Regions from separate parts of the Homo sapiens genome. Here all the other regions are linked to region 1. Evidence: promoter capture Hi-C in 16 types of primary human blood cells and fetal thymus (Javierre and others, 2016). All regions are on one chromosome and are shown on one strand. The core of a region is centred on a gene start or on the middle of the fragment in contact, and the rest is flanking DNA. Distances in the headings are between cores, read along the strand shown. Region 1 holds the start of SF3B1 (splicing factor 3b subunit 1). Region 2 holds the start of INO80D (INO80 complex subunit D). Region 3 overlaps GLS (glutaminase). Region 4 overlaps GLS (glutaminase).

Region 1 (3,440 bases), core at 300-2,799:
TTGAGGCCAAGAGTTTGAGACCAGCCTGGGGAATATAGTAAGATCTCATTCTACAAAAAATAAAAATTAGCTGGGTATGGTGGCCCATGTTGGTGGTACTAGCTACTCTGGAGACTGAGGCAGGAGAGTCTCTTGAACCTTAAGGTCGAAGTTAGGGTCAGCTGTGATCGCACCACTGCCCTCCAGCTTGGGCAACAAACCAAGACTGTGTGTCAAAAAAACAGAAAAAAAATCGTTTGTGTCACCTGATCTGAAGAAGGGAGGGAGTCTGGTGAGAGGGAAAGAGGGAGCAAGGCTGCAGGTCAGGAGTCACCAGGGACAGGTTATCTAAGCTCTCAGTCCAGTGCCATTGTCCATATATCTCCCACCTACCGCTAGCCTCAGGAAAATGGCTCCTCACTTTACCCAAAGTAGATATGGGGTCTTCCTGCAAGAGGAATACACCCATACCATTTCCCTCCCTTCAAACGACCATACTGACCCATGGTATGGTTAGTATTTGGGTTGCAGGTTTATCACATAGCGAGGTACTCCTCTCTTTGTGATGGCTCTAACCTTGATAACTACCTGTTTTCCTCGGCTGCTTCCGGGACCCATCTTTCTGAGCCTTTCTTTCTTTTTCATCGTCGAAGTCAAAGACCAGTGTGACAGTACAAGGTTATATTATAATTGATGCCCAGGAAAACAGACTGCCGTATTCTGATCTATTAAAATTCCTGATTTAGGAATACCGTCTAGGATTTAAGAGAAACATCTAATGAATGTTAATAATGACGATGAGTGGTTTTCTAGGAACCCATAAAGTAAAAGGCTTTAAAAGGGTGGCAAGATTGTCACTGTGCAACTCAGCAACGATTTGTGAGGCTCAACGAAATTCCTACCCAAATTATTTGCAATTATTAAACAGAAAGAATGAAAAATGACCTTGAATTACAGGGCGAAAGATGGGACTGTTAAGACTGTCTTCGTAACTAAGCACTGTAAAGACTGAGACAGCTGCAAGGGAAAGTTTTCCTCGAGCTCTTCCAGTGAATTTTGGGAAAAGGGATTGAATGTCTGAGGTCTCTTCCAGCTCTGAAACCGCAGCGTTTCGTACAGTGTTCATTTTTTTTTAATGGGAGGGGTCTCGGGGTCTTGCTCTGTCGCCCGGTCTGGAGGCTTGAGTACAGTGGCGCGACACGATTACGGCTCACGGCTGCCTCGAACTCCTGGGCTCAAGCGATGCTCCCGCCTCAGCCTCCAGAGTTGCTGGGACTCAGTGTCTGTTCTTAACTCCCTTCGTAGAATCCACTTTCCTCCAGGGCAAAGTTACTCACTTAAGGACCTTACGGCTCGGCTCGGGGATTTCCTGGGTCACCACGCAGGCGACTTCAGGGCCCAACCGTGTCTCCTCCCCCACCCACAATGCACCTCGCGGTTCCCTCTAGGTGGCAGTTCTGTCACGTGTCACCCGACGGAGCGCGCTCCCGTTTGGCGCACGCGCAGAGTGCAGCCCCCAGCTATTTTTCTCCGTGGCGGCGGCGACGAGCGGAAGTTCTTGGGAGCGCCAGTTCCGTCTGTGTGTTCGAGTGGACAAAATGGCGAAGATCGCCAAGACTCACGAAGGTAAGCGGTCTTTCCCTGCTTACGTGTTTTCTTCGTTGCTAGCCTAATAAAAGCCTTTTTTCCTAGGATTCTGCCTTTTTCTATGGTTTCTTTCGTAGGAGCTGAGCCCGCGTTTCGGGGCCAAGGGTCGTCTCCTCCGCGCCAGCGGCGCAGGCCACTGCCCCGCGTAATGGCGTCCTCCTCTTACACCCCCGACAGGCGCTTTGTTCAGTGTTTGGGACCTGCTACTTCAGAGTAGCTTCTCTTCTCTGACCAGAGGGCCTCGTTTAAGCGGCTTCCTCAGTAGGATTCGTGGGCAAGGGATCGGGGAAGCGGGCGTGGGGAGAAGGTCTCACTCGCCTCTCGACACTGTCGTCCCCATAGTTTGTGCAGAAGAGGGTCAGAAAAGCACTGAAATACGGCAGCCGCTTTTCCGGCAGACTGAATCGAATTTGGTTAAACCGAGATTCCGTTACTCCTACCCTTGTGTGTCTTCAAGCGTCAGTTACTTGTTTATTTTTCTTGCACGAAACGATTTGGGGATAAAATCTGGTAGTTGTTTTCCCTCCCTTAGTCACTTTTAGTATAATATTGATCTTTTTCTTTGGAGACTGGTTATTGGAGGAGCAGATGGAAGAGGAAAACATAAATTACTTTCATTAATGGCCGAAGCTTTCAAGCTAGTTGATCGTTTTATGGAATACAGAGTGTGCAAATTAGGAAAACGTTGGGAATAGACTGGAGTTCATTAGGAAGTATCCAGAGATGACAGAAAATGGGATCACTTTTCAGAAAAGACGAGGCATGAGAAGTTGGAACTGCATTCTTTGATTTCTGACTTGGAATCCGAGATTTTCACTGAGAACGAGACTTCTAAGTCACTTTTGTTTCATATGTTCTTTCTGGGTATTTGGCTCGGTATTAGTCTGTGAGAGGTAAGAGACTGAGGCCATCCAAAATTTTACAGTCTGATAGGAGAAACAGATGTGTATGTTCTCATTCTCTCATGAGGCCAGATGCATGCTTAAGTAGAAGAAAAAGCAGCATGTTCTGGGAACCTGGGTAACGGAATGATTATGTTTAGGGTTGTTTCACTGAGGAGGTTACATGACCGTGTTTTAAAAGGATCAGTCAGTTTTAAATCGGGAAGGACATCTGAGCCTGAGAACATCTTGTAACAAGGTATTGAATCGTGAAAGGTGTGTTTGAGTAGTAGTCCACTGTAGCAGGAACAGAGGGTGCAAGTAGAGAAGAAATAAATGAATCTGGAAAGGTTGGATTAGGACCAGAATGTGAATGGCTTTGAATAGTTGGGTCACCCAGAGGACCTGAAGTCCAGCTTTCTGCTATTTATCAAACATGCTAATGAATTGTCAATGACTTTAATATTAGTATACCATTTTAGGTATTTAGGATTTAAATGCTCTCTTAGTATTCCTAGGCTTTATTATTTTGTCTTTAGACTATCTCAAATATAACCTTTTGCAAAGTAAGTAGAAAATATAAAGTTGTGCTGTTTTTGTTCATTCAGGATGTTATTCATTTGGGGATATTGATAGTATAGCTTTGATACTTATTTATTGGTAACTTCAGTATAAGATGCCCTCAGACAGGAAAATCAGAATTCTGATCAGTTTTCCTGAATTTTTTAGAAACCCAGCTAAAAACTTTGGTCTATTGCTATTCATTGGCCAAACTTGTTATTTTTGAGATTATTCTATCAATGTGAATTAAGTGATACCATAAGAAAATAGCAGAACATTCAATACTTGAGCACTGTCTGTGCCCATCCCTATGGGATATGTCAGGGGATGATAAATGTTTAGTAGAAATACACATAATACTGACATAGCTTG
Region 2 (3,440 bases), core at 342-2,841, 8.7 Mb before region 1:
AAAAAAAAAAAAAAAAAAAAAGAAAATCCAGAATATTTAGGTAAGTACTATATTCAAAGTTATATGATAAAGATAAGGTTCAGCTAGAAACTAATAAATATCCGATATATGCATTACATGAACTCACTTTTAAATCAGGACAATTTCTAAATTTGGAAGTTATTTCTAAATGTTGTGTAATAAATTTTACAAAGAAATTAAATATTCTACTGATTCAGGGCACTAATATAACAAATTCATTCCTGCCAGGTTAGTCAACATGTGTTAGAAAAATAACTTTTAATACAAGATTTAAATCATCATCCCCAGTAGAACATACAAAGATAGTCGGTTCTTTTTCTATTATTTTTCTCTTTCTTCACAAAAATAGAAAAATGTCTCTGCAATTTATCCTCCAATAAGCGTTCTATTGGAATCGATGTAAATGGGTACCCTTTGTCCCTCTCACCTCTGTGCTAACAGCATTGTTTAACTCTGATCCCATTTATCTAGTAAGCTTTGCTCATTTAAAAAAGTAAATTCATGACATCCACTGCAATATACAAAAAGTCTATCATACAGGCTGGCAGCACATTGGAAGTTCTGAACTAACATAACTAACAAAAATAGCCACATTTCTCAATTCTGTGACACAAAAAGCAGATAGCAACATGTGTAATGCACCAAAGATCTAGCTAGAGTTTAAAGAATCTAAATAAATAAAAAAATTAAATGCCCGGATATAATTCTTAATAAGCTATTTTACCTCAAGAAAAATCTAAGGCTGTCTTTAAAATCTCTTTCCAGTTTTACTGTATCCTTTCTGTATGGGCAGCATAACAGAATTTCCAGAAACAGGGGCCGTTTTTAAATCCCCAGTGATAGCTGCCTTTATCTGCACTGTGGAAAATGACACACTGTATCATGCCTTTCTGGACAGTCCATAGGTTTTATTTACATTGCTTTGAGAAACAGACGAAAGACATGTTTTTTTACAATTGTCTTACAGCAATCTGTTCTGAGAGTAACATGTAACACAAATTTTTATATGCAATATATGAAAACATAAATATTTATATATACAATAACATAACCAGACAAATAAATGAAGTTACTATTAAGTCTCTTTAAGTATAAATTTACAAACTGACCACCAGCCACAGAACTTAGCCCTGTAATGGAGAAAAATTATTACTGGCTTAAAAAAATATTAAAATATCACTGTCACTAACATGAAAAAAATTAAAAACAGAAAATAAAAAACAATAACCACCGGAAAACCTGTGTCTTGTAAAGATTTCTTTCCATCAGAAGATGCAGAAACATTTTTCCCCCTGGAGCAAATGAAAACGTTTCTCATGCACCCCCCGTTTCTTCCCTGCTTTCTCCCCCAGGCGCGGGTGTAGACGGCCGGTGTGGACTTTTTTCCAGAGATGAGAAGTAAAAATTTGTACTTTATCGGGAGCGGGTGCACTTTTCCCCCTGGCCCCCCTTTGCTCTGCCTCCAAGATGGTAGGAAAGTTGTCGTTTCGGAGGGCAGAGGAGCAGCTCTCTGGTGTTATGTCCTCGCAGTGCCTGTAGTGGTGCTGTAGGAGGCTGCTGCCTCTTCTTGTACAGCCCCGGCAGCCCTGCCTTCTTGGCTGGAGAGTATATTCAGGGATTTCCCCTTAATAATCACCGACCCTGGGAGCACTTTTTAGTTTCCAAAATAAAAATATGATCCTCACCCCTCTTGCTTGACAGGGAAAGGCTCTCGCCGGAGCCCAGGGGGGAGCAGTAGCAGCGGCAGCCGAGCTTCCTAGTCCATTGCCAGCGCCTCTCACTCTGATCTGTCAGCCCAGCCGAGGGAACAGGGGGGAAGGAGAAAAAAAAAAGCAGCTGAAAGGTAAGCAGAGGCGGCCCCAGGCCCGGCCCACATCCCCGGGCTCCCGTAGGGCGGCGGGCTGGGCCGCGCAGGCTGGGCGGGCGGCGAGCGCGCTTACGTGAGGCCGGGGATTCGCCGGCCCACGCCAGGCCCCGGGCGGAGAATGAAAGGGTGAGTGGGGCCGGCGCCCGGGTGGTGGAGGCCGGGGGCCTGAGGGCCTCCGGGGCGCCCGCGGGCGGCGACGGCGGGCGGGCAGGGGTCCAGCCGGAGCCGGAGTGGGGCGAGCGGAGCGGCCTGCGCGGGCCAGGTGGGGGTGTGCGGCGGGAGGGGGGGGCGCCGGTAGGCCTCGGGCCGGTAGGCCCCACGGCAGCCGCGCCCTGCCCCCGCACCCCGGGCCTCCGCGCGCCCCCTCGAGTCCCCCGGGGTCTCCGGGTGGGACGGCGGCGCTGCTGGGCCGAATCCCGCGCCGGCCCGGAGGCTTTCCCGCGGGGCGGCAGGCCCGGGCTGCCGGGACAGGGGCGTCAGGGCCTAGGAGTGGGGAGTGGGGAATGGGCGCCCGGCTCCCCTTCCCCCGGGTCTCTCGCAGACGGCCCCCAGATTCCGGTAAGAGTTGAATTTATTTATCCCCCTCCTCCGCGCTCCGGACGGCCAGGCCGGGGCGGGGCGGGGCGGGCGGCCTGGCGGGCGTGGGGTCGGGTGGAGGGGCGGTGAGGAGTCAGGTGCAGCCGCGGCCCAGAAAGTTTCCTTTTAGGCCCGAACTGGGGGCCGCTGTCTCTCCGGGGAGCCCTGGTCCTAGCGCCCGGGACCCCCCAGGGCGTGGGGGAGCGCACTCGGCTATTTTGAAACTCTTTGCCAGTTCCTGTCCATTGAAGAAGGTACTCCGCCCCTGCACCCCTCGCCCGCGCCCCACCCAACTCCCCGCGAGCCCATTCGGGGCTGCTAACTCCAGCCCCTTCCCCCTAGAGCCCCCCAGGTTGGGGAGAGGGCCTTCTCTTCCGGTTTGGAAAAGTTTGCAAGGGGCTTTTCTTAGCTTTATTAGTTAGTGACTGGGTTTTTGGGGTGGGAAGGAGGAGGTAAACTCAGGTGGTGTTTCTGCCGGACAATCTTTCCCTATTGCCTTTTTTAGCCCTTACCCCACCAACTGGGGGTGTTATTTTCAGCTTGAGTACCCACCCCCTTTCATCCCGATTCCTTTGGGTCCAAAATCCCCCTTCTGGACAGCTCCGGCGGAGAGGAAGATGTAGGGAGCAGCGAGGAGACTGTCAGTGAGAGGGGCAGGATCAGGCAGGGTTTCTGGAGCAGTCCCCAGATGTAGGAGTTTCCCCTCCTTTTTGGTCACTGTCCGGTAAAACCAACACCGGAACAGATCCCAAGGGGGAGACGTGGTTGTCAGATGGCTTGGAAGCCTCCGGGATTGGGAGGAGGGAGAGGAAGTGGGCAGGGCAGCTCCCGAAACAAGGTCTACAGTTTAAGGATCAGTAGTTCATTTATTCTGATAATCACTGTTTAGTTTTATGTGACATTCTTGTATTCGACCTAGAAATAGAGTAATGGAGATTTTAAGGAAACCTAAACTTGTTATTGCTACAACTCAGAA
Region 3 (3,440 bases), core at 259-2,758, 6.5 Mb after region 1:
TACTACACAGTAGTTAAGATCAAGTGCACAAGTTCTTGAATCCTGGCTGTAATACTATAGTTGTGTAACCTTGGGTAAATTAATTAACCTTTCTGTGATCCAGTTTCCTCATCTGAGAAAGGGAATAAAACAGTGCCTCCCTCATAGGGTTGTGGTGAGGATCAGTTGACTCAATACATTCAATATCTTTAGAACATGTCTGGCAGAGAGTAAGACTCCACTGACAGTAGTTGTAGTTATTATTTCTAAAGTGATCTAGGTTTACATATCCTAGTCAGCCCTTTGCATCCATAGATTCAACCAACACGGATAAAAAATATTCAGAAAAAAAATAAAAAAACGTACATTCAAAAGATAGTATAAGACTTATTTACATAGCATTTACATTTTATTAGGTATTATAAGTAATCTAGAGATGATTTAAAATATATGGGAGGATATATGTAGGTTATAGGCAAATATTATGCCATTTTACATAAGAGACTTGAGCTGTGGGGGACCTGGAACCAATCTCTTAACATATACAGAAGGACAAGGCAAGACTGTATACATCAAATTCTACAAATCATAAAGACTATTAAAAGAAAAACGTTACCAATAAGTATGCATTAAAAATCTTAATTAACTAAACTAGTGTAACACTAAAATGCTATGATTAACCAAACTTTTAAATACTGAATGTCACACAAATGTTTTTTAAAAACACATAGCTTTATCATTAAAATATTTAATGACATATCCTGATACATAATTATTCCCTGAAACTGTTTTTGCTCTTAGACAACTTCTAAAAATGCATTTGAAGCTGGGCGTGGCAGCTCACGCCTATAATCCCAGCACTTTGGGAGGCTGAGGCAGGAGGATCACTTGAGGTCAGGAGTTCGAGATCAGCCTGGCCAACACGGTGAAACCCCATCTCTACTAAAAATAGAAAAACTAGCCAGACGTTGTGGCAGGCGCCTGAATCCCGGCTACTTGGGAGGCTGAGGCAGGAGAATAGCTTGAACCCGGGAGGTGGAGGTTGCAGTGAGCCAAGATCGTGCCACCACACTCCAGAGTGGGTAACAGAGCGAGACTCTGTCTCCAAAAAAAATACATTTGGGATGTTTTAGTAATAATAACTACAATATATTGATCACTTACTTATATTCTACACACTGTGCTAAGTGTTTTACATGCATTCTAACTTAATCCTCCAAGGATTTTATGACAGAGGTACTACTGTTATCCAAAACATAGTATGATTTCTGGTACATACTTAGAAGCTCAACAAATTTGTTATTTGTTCAAAAAAATGACTACCTCTGTCCCCATTTCACAGATTAGGAAACAGAGGCTCAGAGGTTAAGAAGCTTTCCAAGGTTACACAATGGCAAAGATGGATTTTTCTGAATCCAAACTACTGCTACATTATACTGGCTCTCTAACTTACTAGCTTGTTATTACTTTTATAAGGTACAAACAAGTTTTCTAGGTCTTATCCTGACCTAATACCATTAAACACAGCTTAACAATACTCACCACCTAATATTCAAAGAAAAAACTGAACCAGCTGTCAAAAAATCAGTGGATAATAACATACCAATTATTTACAGCAAATGGTTGGTCAAATAAACTTCAGATAGTGGTAGTTTGTCACTTTAAAAAACTGCAGAATAAGCTTTCTATGTATTTATCACACAAGTAAATGGTATTTGCTTTGCCTAAAAGCTATGTAAATAACGTAAAATATACACTTTTTTAGCTTATGGCACATAGTGAAAAAAAATTAAAATGACCACGTTATTGCCAAAGCTAGCAAAAAAAGACAAATGTTTACTTGCTTTTAAACAAGAAATTAATTTTTATCTATAGGGGAAAGAATTTAAGCCAGCCCTAAAAAATAAGCTCACAAAATAAGCTGTCAAAACTGATAAAAAGAAATTACTACCTATTTCAGCATTTGAAACCTCAGATTTTGATCTGAGAATGAATTCGCTTCAACAGTCTGGCGAACAAACATACTCAAATATTCTCCTCAAACTTTCCACAAGGCAGAAACTACTCAAGATCATTCATGCCTTAACCCCCCTTTTCTCTCCCTAAATTAATTCTTTCTGGTAATTCTTCACAATAATGTATTTTTCATTAAAATTCAAAAGCTAAAAACTATAGCTTTTGGTAACTATATAGTAACTAGGAAATCCTTGAGAGAAGTATTTAAGTTTTAATGACAAATAGGATTATAGCAATCTTTCAAATCTTATCATCAACAATTATTAATAACCCAAATGAATCCTCCAGATTCCCCTGAAGAGAAAAACATAAAATGGTTATGATATTCAGCAATTCAAATAGGATATAACAGAAGATAATCTGAAGGAAAATCCTTATTTCTCACCTTTTTACTTCTTCTCCAACTTATACTGTCTCTCTCGTTTCCTTTCTAAATGCTGCCTTTAAGATCATCTTACCATCATATTGTTTCTTCTTTTACCCATTCCTTCCCCTACTTTAGCCTTTAACTGTCTTAAAAAATAATTTCTTAATGAAAAAGAAGAAAAATCCCATGCCATGTATGACATCATGTTAGACATCATTTACAGTCTAGAAGAAGTAGGAGACATGTACATAAAATGAGGAATTACAAGAATAGATCTATGACATCCAGACTTTGGAAAACTACTTCACTGTGGTCTAATAAGGTCAAGCTTTTTTTTAGATGAGGTGGAATCTGAGCTAAACCTGAAAGATGGGTAAGAGCTGGAAGCATGGCAACAGAAAAAGATTTCTGGCAAACAGACCAAAGGGATGAAAGTAAGCATTCACTTAGTGTTTATAAAGAACAAAAAACAGCTAGAGCACAGAATGTGTGAATTAAGGTGCCTGTTTCTACCTATAGGCTATTATATGAATACTTAATTTTTTAGTGTTGAGAATATATATATTCTGAATATATATATCTGAGGTAAATGAGGAGACTACCTTCCAAAATCTACATTAAGTTTAAATGCAGGGCCAACTTCTGCAACATGAAAAGAGGAACTGTCTTTGCTTACCCCACTGACCAAATTAGTTTCCCCATACCAAAGGGGGAATTCATACTCCTCAGTCTGGTATGCAGTTCTCTATAAATTAGTTTTACACTATTTATTCCTAACTTAATCCTTATAATTCCCCAATGTAATTGACTAGACTCAATGACCTGTAAATAAGTGCTATCTCATCTTTTTTTTTTTTAACCTATCATGCCTTCTGTGTAAAACCTTCCTCTCCCTAAATCTTAAGCTATCAATGATCATTTCAATTGTTTCACAGGACTTTGCCCCCACCAGATTCTCTATACTCTTTAGCATTCTCTGGTATCACTAAGTTTTGTCCTTTTCTTGTACCACTTATTATATGCCAAGCAATAGCAATAAAGATCCCTAAAGTAAGGTTGTGGTCTAGGAGAAATATGA
Region 4 (3,440 bases), core at 499-2,998, 6.5 Mb after region 1:
GAACAGGAATAGATCAATGAATAATTTATACATAGTACACAATGTGAAAAGAACTGCTCATCATTTTCAGAATATGAATGGGTAGATTAAGGTACATAGATAAGGAAATCATATATATGTATGCACAAACGTATATACATATGCACAAACATATGCAACCCACACATTATATATAAATTATCAGGATATAGGCTGACATATCAGTATATTTCAGCAGTTCTTTCCACATAAATATATGCCTATTAAATATACACTGTCAGATCAAGATCACCAGGTATTTTAAGTCTCCTCTCTCTTTACTTCAAATAAATTTTTTAAAAAAATCTTTAAAAGCAAGTAATCATAAACTGTTACATATATTGAATATATCATTATACTGGAACTCCTTATTAACTAATTCTAAAAGAACTTCATTTAAAAATCCCACAGATTAATACAAATTCATGTAAACAACAGTATTTCCCCTTTCAAATAGTTTTAAAACTTCTACAATATATTCAGGAATCTCCAGAATATGAATGGCAGATTTAATTAAACATAAAAATGTAAAGTACTATATTTGACCTACAATACATGGAGCCTCTATAATTTGTACTATAATTTGGATCATGCTGTGGAAATATACAAAATTCCTTCTGAAAATGTAATCCCCTCAGAAACCAGTTAAGGTGAATTTCTGTATCACTGTCATTCTGTTTAATATAAATTCTACTGAGATTAACAGTTTTATTCTAAAGCAATATGATGATACTCTTCATTTGGTTTAGCAATGTTTTTCCTATTATTTAGGCAACAACAGATAAAATGAGAGTTACATAGTGAATAACAACAATATTCCTCCTCAGAAAGCAGAAATAACCTACAAATAGGGTTGCACTTTTTTTAAAGTTACCAAATGGAAAAACCACCAAAAAAATTGAGAGAAAAGTTTTTATTCAAATACTTCTAGTACAACCAATAAGAAAAGTCCTCCTCCCAAAAAAACCACTAATGCTATATTGCATTTTAAAAAATCAAATAAAGCCCTTTTGAATATTTCTAGTTTACTTTGAGGCAGCTTCAGAATAGCAAACACTTTAACAGTATCTTCATAAAGAATAATTTTTTCTAAGTTAAAATCCCAACTGTATTTGTACTTAAAATGTTGAAGTTGCTTTTATAAAAACAAAACAAAACAAAACAAAAAAAACAATAAAATCAGCTTAAAATAAATTTATTGTGCAATACAAAATGTAGGCATACTGGAAAATAAAGGTACATTATTAAATATACAAAGCAAATGAAAGCTAAACAACACAAATGTTTTCATCCAAACACTAAGATAAAATGCACAACATTTATGCTAAAAACAAAGTACTTCAAGAACAATATGCATTTCAAATGAAATGTTAATGATGCCAAAAAAAGAAAGAAAAAAGAAAATCAAATATGCTACATTGTAAATGCTTGAATATCAAGAATCAATAATGGCATAAAACAAACCCAATAATAGTGGGTACTATCAAGAACTTTGTTTAAAAAGGTGTTAAGAATACTGAAAGAATCAAAATATGTCCTTAAAACTGGCAAAGTTTTTTCTTTTTTAAGTTTGAGGGCCTATTCGCAGTATCTTATCTCTTCTTCCGTTTATACTTTTCTATAAAAATTTCTGCTCATTCTTAACATTTTCTAAACACAGTAGCTTAGATAACAGTACTTCATTTTTAAGTATGCATTTAAAGCATTACCAACACAAAAATAGTAAGTGACACAAATTAACAACCTAATTTTGAAATCTATACAGCTATGTATACGATATGAAAACTAAATCTTCATTTAATAAAGTAAAACCAACTTCGGAATGAAATGGTAAAATGTAACAATTTAGATCATAGGGGAAACCACAATGCCTTTTTTCCAATTAAGGCATTCGGTTGCCCAAACTACAAATGGCCCTGGTGCAACTAACATAAATATGCAACACAAATATGCAGTAAGGCCTTGAGAAGCATCCAGTTAGGATATGCATCTGAACATTCAAAGAACATTCAAGTAAGCATAAAATCCTTGGGAAAATCCTCTACAACTTAAAATATAATTATTTAAATATATAAATTTAATACTTAAGTTAGCCCAAAAGGCTTTTTGGCCAGCACCTCTAGAAGGGAATTTCTTTTCTTAATATCACAGTTCCCAAACTTAAGACATTATGATCAAGATTTTCTATCTTTATTTGCACTAGTATCTAAAATACTCAGTGAAATCTTTTTTGCTACACTATATTTACTTTTACAGACTTTCCATTACCACATACATACACCATCATGCTAAGAAACCACCAAGTTTTTCTTCTAATCCCCCACTAAAATTAACAGGTTTCAACAAACTTGAAATTATAGGGGAACTATGGGGAAAACCAGAGAAGTATATGGAAGAAGGAAGAAGTGTGAATAGGTCCTACAGAATTTTACAATCACTTTGCCAAGACAACTATAAATACTATGAATAATTACTTGAAATCAGGTTGTGTAGAATCTATAGTTCTCTTAAAAACAAGTTTTGATTCTCAATATTGCATTTTTATACCAAATAAAAGGATTTAGATCTAACGTATTTTAGTAGCATACTTACTACCTGCAGACTAAATTCATTTCTCAAGTACTCTAAAAAACTTCAAATAGAACAAACTTTATGAGATGCTATAACTTATCACAAAAGAAATATTAGCATTTATAAAATTAAGATAATAAAATGTAAAAGCTAAAAACCAAAATTTGCCATTCATATTTAAATATAACATAGAAAAAGTTATGTGGATAATATGAAAATAAAATTGTTTAGGTGAACAATTCACTTGAAGACACTCACTGTTTCTCCTTCTGAGTAACTAACCATTATAGCTTTTTATTGATGAAACATCATTATCTCACATCTGAAATTCTTTGGCTGGAATGTTTTAGTAACATAAGACACTCCTGTATATAACAACTCTGACAGAACAGAGGAGTTGCAAAATAAAAAAAGTAGGAGTCATATTTTAAAGCATTTGATAAATTTTTAAATAAATTTTTTAAAATGTAAAGCCAATCTATCACCAAAAATGGCATAAATGTAAACACAAGCTAATTTTATAATCCACTGCTATTTTAAATAAAATAATTTGGGGTTCATTATTTTGCCTTTTTAGTTTTGTATTTAGCATAGAAGTACCTTCTATTGCCACTAAAGACATCACATTAGTTTTAAAAATGGAAAAGAAAAAACAAAATGCAACAAAACTTATGAGTTTAATTTGTGAATTTTAGAACTAAGAATTACAATTTTCTGTTACTATTGTAAAATGGGATTATCTGACCACATAGTTAACATTTTAATTACATCAAAAAAAATTTAAATTTTTCCTTTTTGTATTTTTAAAAATAAAGCAAATTTATGTACTTGTAAATACTTTTTAAAGACCA

The links. Contacts are between HindIII fragments. The CHiCAGO score rates a contact against its expected background, and 5 or more counts as called.
Region 2: the fragment with the promoter of INO80D here is called in contact with the fragment with the promoter of SF3B1 in region 1 in 1 of 17 cell types (neutrophils); the score reaches 11.6 in neutrophils.
Region 3: a contact is called between a fragment that was not itself captured here and the fragment with the promoter of SF3B1 in region 1, in 1 of 17 cell types (total B cells). The highest score is 6.0, in total B cells.
Region 4: a fragment that was not itself captured here is called in contact with the fragment with the promoter of SF3B1 in region 1 in 1 of 17 cell types (total B cells); the score reaches 6.3 in total B cells.

Annotation. Positions count from the first base shown.
Region 1 is chr2:197,433,137-197,436,576 of GRCh38, reverse strand. SF3B1 (splicing factor 3b subunit 1) reads left to right here and starts at 1,549. Exons shown (of 25, transcript NM_012433.4): 1 at 1,549-1,605. The coding sequence starts at 1,578. RefSeq lists enhancers at 1,101-1,150, 1,171-1,480, 722-1,921, 1,666-2,212. The HindIII fragment of the contact is 13,845 bases long and covers 1-2,258 here.
Region 2 is chr2:206,084,325-206,087,764 of GRCh38, reverse strand. It overlaps INO80D (INO80 complex subunit D), which reads left to right and starts at 1,591. Exons shown (of 11, transcript NM_017759.5): 1 at 1,591-1,864. It overlaps INO80D-AS1 (INO80D antisense RNA 1), which reads right to left and starts at 3,110. Exons shown (of 2, transcript NR_186084.1): 1 at 3,017-3,110; 2 at 261-1,808. RefSeq lists enhancers at 1,335-1,444, 1,455-1,504, 1,009-1,828, 1,555-1,844 and silencers at 1,895-2,104, 2,185-2,354, 2,375-2,574, 2,615-2,664, 2,566-2,860. The HindIII fragment of the contact is 4,007 bases long and covers 499-3,440 here.
Region 3 is chr2:190,891,248-190,894,687 of GRCh38, reverse strand. The region is part of intron 1 of GLS (glutaminase); the gene reads right to left. Among named protein-coding and RNA genes, the nearest start is that of GLS, 12 kb to the right of the region's middle. The HindIII fragment of the contact is 308 bases long and covers 1,355-1,662 here.
Region 4 is chr2:190,933,047-190,936,486 of GRCh38, reverse strand. All of the region lies in intron 14 of GLS (glutaminase), which reads right to left. Among named protein-coding and RNA genes, the nearest start is that of GLS, 54 kb to the right of the region's middle. The HindIII fragment of the contact is 3,499 bases long and covers 1-3,440 here.